2 separate regions of the Homo sapiens genome follow, and region 1 is linked to region 2. Evidence: promoter capture Hi-C in 16 types of primary human blood cells and fetal thymus (Javierre and others, 2016). All regions are on one chromosome and are shown on one strand. The core of a region is centred on a gene start or on the middle of the fragment in contact, and the rest is flanking DNA. Distances in the headings are between cores, read along the strand shown. Region 1 has its middle 2.5 kb from the start of SMTNL1. Region 2 holds the start of OSBP (oxysterol binding protein).

Region 1 (4,728 bases), core at 176-2,675, 2.1 Mb before region 2:
GTATGATTTCATTTAAGTAACATTCTCAAAATCACAAAATTATAGAGATGGAGAAGAGATTTCTGATTGTCTAGTGTTAGGGTTGATGGGGAGATAGAAGTGTACCTGTAAAGGGTAGCACAAGAGAGATCTTTGTGTTGATGGATAATTCTGTATCCTGATTGTGGTGGTGGTTACAAGAATCTACACAGGTGATAAGATGTCATAGAACTGGCAGGGTGCGGTGGCTCACGCCTGTAATCCCAGCACTGTGGGAGGCCCAGGCGAGCGAATCACAAGGTAGGAGTTCGAGACCAGCCTTGTTGGTGAAACTCCGTCTCTACTAAAAATACAAAAAATTAGCTGGGGGTAGTGGCGGGCACCTGTAACCCCAGCTACTCAGGAGCCTGAGGCAGGAGAATCGTTTGAACCCGGGAGGTGGAGGTTGCAGTGAGCCGAGATCGTGCCACTGCACTCCAGCCCAGGCGACAGAGTGAGACTCCGTCTCAAAAAAAAAAAAAAAGCCAGGCGCGGTGGCTCACACCTGTAATCCCAACACTTTGGGAGGCCGAGGCGGGTGGATCACGAGGTCAGGAGATCGAGACCATCCTGGTTAACATGGTGAAACCCCGTCTCTACTAAAATAAAAAAAATCAGCCGGGTGTGGTGGCATGCGCCTATAGTCCCAGCTACTCAGGAGGGCGAGACAGGAGAATCGCTTGAACCCGGGAGGCGGGAGGCAGAAGTTGCAGTGAGCCGAGATTGTGCCACTGCACTCCAGCTTGGGCGACAGAGCAAGACTCGGTCTAAAAAAAAAAAAGAAAGAAAAAAAAAGTCATAGAACTACTACACACACACATTGTACCAATATAAATTATCTGGCTTTGATATTGAATATAGTTATGTTAGATTTAACCTTTAGTGGAAGTTGGTAAAGGGCGTACAGGACCTCTCTGTACTATTAATGCAACTTCCTGTGAAACTATAATTATTTCTAAATAAAAAGTTTTAAAAATCTCTACAAAAAAGAAAACAAATAAGATTATACAAGTATGAGTAAGAGCTGGCCATAAAGAAAGAAAGAAAAATATTTATATAAAAGATTGTGTAAGTAAAGTACCTAGTCCATGGTAGATGCTCAATAAAAATAAATCATTGTTTTCATTCTTTTTCATTTTTAAACTTTCACTGGGGCAAATTTATTTTTATTTTTACTTAGGATTTTTGAGGCAGGATCTTGCCTTGTCACCCAGGCTTGAGTGCAATGGTATGATCAGTGCTCACTGCAATCGTGAACTCCTTGGCTTAAGCAATCCTCTTACCTCAGCCTCCTAAGTAGCTGGAACTAGAGGCATGAGCCACCATGCCTGGCTAATTTTTTTTTTTAAGAGATAGGGTCTCATCATGTTTCCCAGGCTGGTTTCAAACTCCTGGGCTCAAACAATCCTCCTGTCTTGGCCTCTCAAAGTGCTGGGATTACAGGCATGAGCCACCCCATGCCCAGATGGAATATTTAAAACATACAGAAAAGCAGAGAGAACAGGACATTGAGCTTCCATATATTCATCACCAGGACTTAGGAATTGTTAACATTTGTCCATATTTTCTTCATCTATTTTTATCTCTAACAGATAAAGCCCTTTTATTTATTTATTTTTTCCTTGAGACAGGGTCTCTGTCGCTCAGCCTGGAGTGCAGAGACCCAATCATAGCTCACTGTTAGCTTAAACTCCTGGGCTCAAGCAATCCTCCCATCTCAGCCTCCTGAATAGCTAGGACTACAGGCGCAAGCCACCATGCCTGAGTGGTTTTTAAAATTTTTTGTAGAGATAGGGTCTTGCTATGTTGTCCAGGCTGGTTTCAAACTCCTGGCCTCAAGCGATCCTCCTGCCTCAGCCTCCCAAAGCACTGGCATTACAGGCATGAGTCACTGCACTGGGCCCTGCTTAACAAAAAAAATTTTTTTAAACGGAGTCTCGCTCTGTCACCAGACTGGAGGATAGTGGCACGATCTCCGCTCACTACAGCCTCTGCCTCCCAGGTTCAAGGGATTCTCCTGACTCAGCCTCCCAAGTAGCTGGGACTACAGGCGCATGCCACCACACCCAGCTAATTTTTGTGTTTTTAGTAGAGATGGGGTTTCACCATGTTGGCCAGGATGGTCTCAGTCTCCTGACCTCATGATCCACCTGCCTTGGCCTCCCAAAGTGCTTTATACACCGCGCCCGGCCAACAAATTTTTAAGTGCACAAAATAGTATTGTTAACTATATGTACCATATTGTACACAGATTTCTAGAACTTATTCATCTTGCATAACTGAAATTGTATACCCATTGAACAGCAACTCTCCATCTCCCCAGCTGCTCAGCCTCTGGAAAACCATTGCTCTTATTGATGATGATGCTATTGTTATTATGATTATTTACTATGAGACTGTGTCTTTCCTCTATGTGGAGACCTACAGGTAGGAATCTCCAATGGTCCCAGTTGAATTGCTTCTTGTAGAAGACAGTTTAGATAGCCTCAGACTTTGAAGATATCCTTAGACTCCAGATATGTCATCCAAAGCTACTGATCTCTGTCAACACCATGCTGAAACTCTGGCTCCTCATTCTACCCTGCATTCTACCCCTTCCCAACCTTGCAAAGGTGAGTTGTATATTTGTCATTCATCGTGGGTCAGTATTGTCCTCTTGGGTGGGACCCCAGCCCCAGAAGAAGAGATGCAGAGTTTTCATCTAGAATCACTTCAAGTGGGCCCTGACCACTCATGAGAGGTGCAGAGAATACAAAAACAGAGGTTTCCTGTAACCTCCCTTGTGATGAAATGGCTTACGTCATTCTATTCACTTGAAGAAAAAGCTGGCCCTGGCTTAATCACTGTCTGCACTATTACTGTTTCCCATCACTTCTTCTTACCTCCATGGCTGATACTGTGGTCCAAGCCACCACCATCCTGCACCAGGGTCACTGAGTTTGTCTCCTGACTGCTCTCCCCACTTCTATCCATGCTTCTTCACTTTATTCTCAAAACAGCATCCATCCAGAGTATATCTGCCCAAGATTGGCGAGTTTTTCCACATCTCTCTCTGGCTTGCTGGTTTTTTGTTTAAATTCATTTCTCTTATCCTACTGTCATTAGATATTGAAAAGAGCAAAATACTCTGGGCATGGTGGCTCATGCCTATAATCCCAGCCGGGTTTCAAGTATTACTAGAGCCGGCTGGCAACCATTAATATTGGACTATTTCATGACTAGTACCCAAACCTAGATGCACAGAAAGATCTCTCTTTCAGATCATCCCGGGCAAGACCTCCAAGTTCCTGTCATATTTCTGTTAATTAATTAGTTATTTCATTCAGTATGTATTTATCAAGTACCTAATATGAGCCAGGCAATTCTGCTGGGATCTAGGCATACAGCCATGAGTATGGTAGATAAAATCCCTGCCCTCATGGAGCTTAAAGCCTAGTGAGAGAGTCAGATAATAAGGAAATGAATAAGGTAATTTTAGATTTAGTATTATGAGGACAATAAAAACTGCTGAAATGAGGGAGAGGAATTGAAGGTCATGGAAAACCTCTCTGAGGGAATGAAATTTCAGCTAAGTCCAGAAGAATGAGAGGGAGGCAGTCTTACAAAGAGTAGAAGGAAAAACCAGTCCTGAGTCTGAAAAGGGATGGATTTATTTAAGGAATAGGAAGGAGGCCAGTGTGGCCCAGTGGTGGGGCTTGGGGTAGGAGGACTGGGGGGGATCCCAAGCTTCGTGGGAGTGTCCTCTGCACCCATTCTCCAAAAGTAGTGCCTTTCTTAGATTGTAAAACACACAGAGAAAGTGAAGACTTTTTTTTGAGATGGAGTCTCTGTCACCCAAGCTGGAGTGCAGTGACTTGCTGCAACCTCTGCCTCCCAGGTTCAAGCAGTTCTCGTGCCTCAGCCTCCCAAGTAGCTGAGATTACAGGCATGCGCCACCAAGCCCGGCCAATTTTTGTATTTGTAGTAGAGACAGGGTTTCACCCTGTTGACCATGCTGTTCTTGAACTCCTGGCTTCAAGCAATCCACCCGCCTCGGCTGCCCAAAGTGCTGGGATTACAGGCATGAGCCACCATGCCCAGGCTTGTTTTGTTTTTTTCTTAGCAAAATGTCAGTTCAGTATAAAAATGTGTTCAGAGCCTACTGTGTACCTGTCACTTCAGCTCAAAATAGAACTCAGGAGTTTTGTATTTTCCAGGCTCCGTCCAGTGATCCGTCAGCTTGTCCCATCACTTTTGCCCTCTCTGCCCCTCCCCCTCCAAATCTCTCAGTCAACTGTGAGCCCCAAGACACATCCCCTGTGTTGGCAGCTGCCCTACTCGCCCCCTCCTTAGCCCAGCCTTAAGCAGCTGCTTTTGTCTGAGGACGAGGGAAAGGGGCTATGTAAGGAACGTGGCGGGGTGGGTGTGAAGGGAGCACAAGAGGCCTCGCCTGGGCTCTGGATGAGCAGTGGAGGCCAGGGCCATGCTCTAAATGAGTCCTGAAGATGGTTGTCAAGGTCCCTAGGGTTAGGAGAGTCCACTGGGGAGAAAGATGACCACAGGACGGATGCTGCCAGGCTCAGGGCGGAAGGGACGTGCCGTGATTGAAAGGTGCCACCTGTCAGATCTTCCACGGGAAATCCGAGCCTCCCAGTCTAGGGTAAAGTGTTGTACCAACAGGCCAGTAAACAATGCTCTTCAGGCAGCCCAAGACTCTTGAAGTGGGGGTGG
Region 2 (4,952 bases), core at 315-2,814:
AGATTAGTGTGAACAGAAGTAGTTTCAAATCCCAGCTGCTCAAAAACCTTGGGAAAGTTGCCCATGCTAAGTCTGTTTTCCTCATCAGTAAGATGGGAATATTTCCCAACTCCTAGGGTTGTTGTTGGGAGTCAACAAAATACTATAATGAAATACTGTATATAAAACACCTAGACACATTGTCCAGCCCTCAGGAAATGTTTACGCCCTGTCCCCAAATCACCTATCTTAACTCCTCTATCCTTTTTAGCCCAAAAGCGTGCCATGTGATGGCCAGGTTATGAGTCACCATAAATATATATTAAACAGTCCAAAATAAACCTTGTTGAACAGAAGTAATCACACCAAAGACATGGATTCTTCTTTTAATAAAAGTTAATCCTAACTAACCAAAAAATCACAGAAATGCCAGATAAAACACTTAATCATTTCCACGGGAGGAGGTGGGGCAAGCAAAAATAAAAGCAGCACTGGGGTGCACATCTCCATTCTGGGCTGTCCAGAGGCCAAAGCACATGCAAAGTCTTGGAGAGATAAGGCAGAAAGGGGACGGAATACCGAAGCCACCCTGTGTGTGTGATGCCCTTATGTCTGAATGTGAAGGGAGCAAGGACGGGTACATCCAGAGCTACGAATAACCTTGAGTTTTGGAGACTGGGCACTGACAGCTACAACTTGGGACTTCCACTGTAAGTTCCTTGGGAGGAGTGCCTCGGGTTTGTTCTGCTGCATGTGTTCCCTTAGTACCTACACCAGTGCCTTGCTTGCAGAATTAATAATTGCACCCATGTGCTGGTGGAAATACAATGGAAGCACAGACGCTCTCCAAACGACTAATGACTGGAAAGGCCGGGAGCGAAGGGAAGATAAGGCACCAAGAGTGGGTAACCCGAGGGGAGGGGAGGTGTACGTCCAGGGGCTTTTCACTTTCGTGACAGTGGGCTCCGACCCCTGGGCTGTCAATCCGCACAGATGACGAAAAGGGGCCTGGGGCAACCCTGGCTGCGGTGCCGGCTGGCGGTAATGCCGGAGCTGGGACTGTTGGCAGATATGGGGGAGGCAAGGTGAGCGACAGCGCCCCGGAAGCAGTTACCTGTAGTAGCTCAGGAGCCCGTTGCTCAGCACGAACCATCGCCGCTGGTAGCCTTTGATATAATTGGTCCATTTGAAGAGCCAGCCCTCTCGAGCCGAGCCCGAACCCCCAGCGCCCGAGCCGCCCGAGCCCCCAGTCGGCGGCGCAGGGGCCGGGCCAGCCGCCGCCACTCCCCCGGCCCCCGGGCCCGGGCCTCCCGCCGCCGCCGCGACCACCGTCCCTGACGCGGCCCCGGAGCCTGGCCCCGCATCTCCGCGGCCGCCGCCTCCTCCCACCACTGGGGGACCGGCGCCGCCGCCGCCAAGTGCTGCAATGGCTGCCGGGCCTGGCCCCACCACTCCTCTCAGCTCCGTCGCCGCCATGAGCCGCCGCCGCCTGGAGATACAAGACCGGAACCGCCTACGAGAGCCGCCGTCGCCGCCCGGAGCGCCCCACACGGCTACCGCATCAGCCACCGCCGCGCAGCGTCCCCGCCCCGCCCGGCCAGCCGCGGGGAGGAGGGCTCGGCCGCCGGGAAGAAGGACGTCGATTGGTGCCGCTGAGTGTCACTTGAGGAAGACCCCGCGGATATTGGCATTTCTCTCGGGCCTGTCATTCTACAGCGCCCAGTGAGAGCCTGGGGTGGGACGCGTCCGCCAGACCCACCTTTGATTGGTTCAGATAAAGGCCAATCAGACTTTTGGGGAAGCTCATTGGTGCTTTCCTGAAGTTTCCAGCGCTCAGGGAGGACGGGAGAATGCGGAATGCCCGGCCAATCTGATCGCCGATTGGCTGCTGTTTCCGCCATTCATTTCAGTTTATGCGCCTGTCACTGCCACGTCACCCCCTCCCATCGCTCTTCTCATCATCCTTTTCCGCCCTCATGGATTGGTGGTTGGTATCAGCTGCTCCACCTTTTCTACCATTTACTGAACGAGTTGAGGAAAAAGGGAAGGAGTCTCGTCTTTACATCCTTATTTTCTTTTTTTATTGGTTGGCACCTATGCCACTCACGTGGTGGAGAGGCGGGGCAATAGTTGGAGATGATTGGTTCTGAGAATTGGCTGTGAAAGCGGCATTGCTGACCAGTGAGAGAGACCTAATGAGGAGCAGGCCGGGGCAACCAATGAAATCGGAGAAGAGCGCTTGGGGGCGTGTCCGCCTGCTTTCAGCCTTTGGCAAGTTGGTGGGAGGTGAAAGTGACTTGGCCTCTTAAAAGCGTTTTTTTCACGTGGGTGTGATGTCGTGTTCCGTTTTTCTGAATAAGAACTTCGTAGCTTCTTGTTAGGAAGAACCTGGAGGACAGAGTAACTCTCGGCAGTCAGCCCCCGCCTGAGGCTCTCTTGAAGGACCCCCTTCTAACTCGAAGCTGGATACCCAGATTCCAGGGGTGCCCAGAAGTAGCTTTTCCAGCCCCTTCCTGGATCCATGGTCCCCCTAGTTCCCTTCCCTGTTTGCTCTTTATCGCTCCACACCCCTTGTGTCTTGATTCTAGACTGTCATATGCCTATACCGATTCTGTCCCCTTCAGAAGTAGATTCGCGAGGACCTGACTTTATGTGTCTCTTCCAGACCTAAAGGCCCTTGGTTTTAGCATCATAGGTGCCATGTATATGCTTAACTTTGAACAGAAAATTATTATTTTTTGTATCTTTAAACTGATATATCGTAGTTGTACATATTTAACTTTGGACAGAAAATTTTTTTTATATCTTTAAACTGATATAGTTGTACATATTTTCAGGGATACATCTGATATTGTGATACATGTATTCAATGTATAATTATCAAATCAGTGTAATTGGGATATCCATCATCTCAAACATTATCTTTGTGTTGGGAACATTTTCTGCTATGCGTTCTCTTGTAGCAGGAAATCGTTATTTTTGATCAACTGACTATTCACACATTTGTGAAGATTACAAATTCAGTAACTAATGTAACATTTAGATGTAAGCTATTGTTGCAAATGTAACCTAAAGCGCCGTACTTTAGGGAATCTAGCATCTGTTACATTTTGCTAGTTTGAACAGGCAATAGAAATAGCTATTAGATACTGTAAAAGAAATTGACTTTCTTTGCCAATGTGCTTCCCAGTGTCAATAAATTAAAGTATCCTTTTTAAGAAAATCGTTTCAAAAGAAGCGAAGTATTTATTGAATTCTGGAGAGAGAATACTCTTTAAAAATCTGCAATTTTTACTATCAGGGATCATTTGTATAGCTCATTACTAGTGAATTTCTCTGAATGTGTAGAGCAAAATAAAATCTGCTATTAGATGTAGGCTATTTGGGATTAATTTTTTTTTTAACTGAGCTAGAGTTAATCCATTTAGGCTTGAGTCCTGCTTTTGCTACTTACTGGGTCTATTACTTTGAGAAAATTATTTAAGCACTCCAAGTCTCAGTTTTCACTTATGTTAAACAGGAATAAAACCTCACAGGGATGCTGTTGTGATTAAGTGCGTTTGAATGTGTTTGATAAACTGTAGATAGCTACAAACATGTGAGTTGTGTTGCCAAACACATCTCACAGGTTACTTGCCATCACAAAGGAGAAACATACTTTTACAATGGGGAGATCTGGCAGTCCCCACCTTAACCCAGTTATCCAATGTGTATCAGTAACCCTTGGACAACCAACATTTTTATGAAGTTCCCAGTGTGCTGCAGCATAAAGTATACAGCATCACTTAATGGTGTTTTCTTGCCAAAATACTGAAAGTTAATCTAATCAAGGCTTTGGATCTAAACTCCAGTTTACTGGGCTGGAGGAACCAGTTGAACCATAACCCCAAGGAGATAATCAGATAAATCAAGAACGTGAAGCATTCTATAAGACAACTATTTTATAGAAGATAAGACATAAAGATCAAGGAAAATCAATGTCATAAAAATGGTCAGGGGTGATTGTTCTAAATTTGAAAAAAAACTTAAAGAGATACAATCAAATGCTTAATTGGATTCTGGTTCTGAAAAAGCAGGCTTTTAGACATTTTTGAGACAATTGGGGAAATTTGAAAATGGACTGGTATCAGATGTTGTTAGTTATTACATTTGTTCATTGTAATAATGGTATGCTGGACATGGGGGAAAACATCTTTACAACTTGGAGAAACGTAGGAGTGAAGAGTTATGATATCCGTAACTCTCTTTGAAATGGTTCAGCAAAAAAGAAAGATAAGAGACCAGTCTGGGCAACATAAATAAACCTGTCTCTACTAAAAACAAAAGCAAAACAAAACAAAACAAAAAAATTAGCTGGGCATGGAGGCCTGTGCCTGTAGTTCCAGCTACTTGGGAGACTGAGGTGGGAGGACTGATTGAGCCCAGGAGGTCGAGGCTACAGTGAGCTGTGATTGTGCCACTGCACTCCAGCCTGACAGAGTGAGGCCCTATCTCTCTCTCACACACACACACACACACACACACACACACACACACACACAGAGCCAAGGAAAGATAAATACTTTGAAATGCATACATACACATCTGTCTGTCTGTCTACCTCCCTACCTACCTACCTATCAAGCAAATATGGCAAAATCTTAATTGTTAAATCTATGTGGTAAGTATATAGGTGTTTACTGTACTATTATTTCTACTTTTATTGTATATTTGGAATAATAATTTTAAAAAAGGTTTTGAGAGGCTAGTTTGACCTACTGTTGTTACCTAACACTGCCTCCGGAATACAGAACAGAATTCTTGGCCTGGCAAATGAGACCCATGACAATCTGATGTCACCTCTCCTTTCCAGTCCTTTTTTTTTTTTAAGACAGAATCTCACTCACCTAGGCTGGAGTACAGTGGCACAATCTCAAGTGATTGTCCTGTGTCAGCCTCTGGAGTAGCTGGGATTACAGGCATGCACCACCACA

Evidence for each region. The method cuts DNA at HindIII sites, captures the fragments that hold promoters and counts their contacts. A CHiCAGO score of 5 or more calls a contact.
Region 1: a fragment that was not itself captured here is called in contact with the fragment with the promoter of OSBP in region 2 in 1 of 17 cell types (naive CD8 T cells); the score reaches 5.3 in naive CD8 T cells.

Annotation. Positions count from the first base shown.
Region 1 is chr11:57,532,773-57,537,500 of GRCh38, forward strand. No RefSeq gene overlaps it. Among named protein-coding and RNA genes, the nearest start is that of SMTNL1, 2.5 kb to the right of the region's middle. The HindIII fragment of the contact is 4,634 bases long and covers 1-3,742 here.
Region 2 is chr11:59,614,210-59,619,161 of GRCh38, forward strand. It overlaps OSBP (oxysterol binding protein), which reads right to left and starts at 1,565. Exons shown (of 14, transcript NM_002556.3): 1 at 1,094-1,565. The coding sequence starts at 1,455. It overlaps LOC101927226 (a long non-coding RNA gene), which reads left to right and starts at 1,745. Exons shown (of 3, transcript XR_001748237.2): 1 at 1,745-1,966. RefSeq lists silencers at 1,198-1,417, 1,438-1,737 and an enhancer at 1,938-2,027. The HindIII fragment of the contact is 16,614 bases long and covers 1-4,952 here.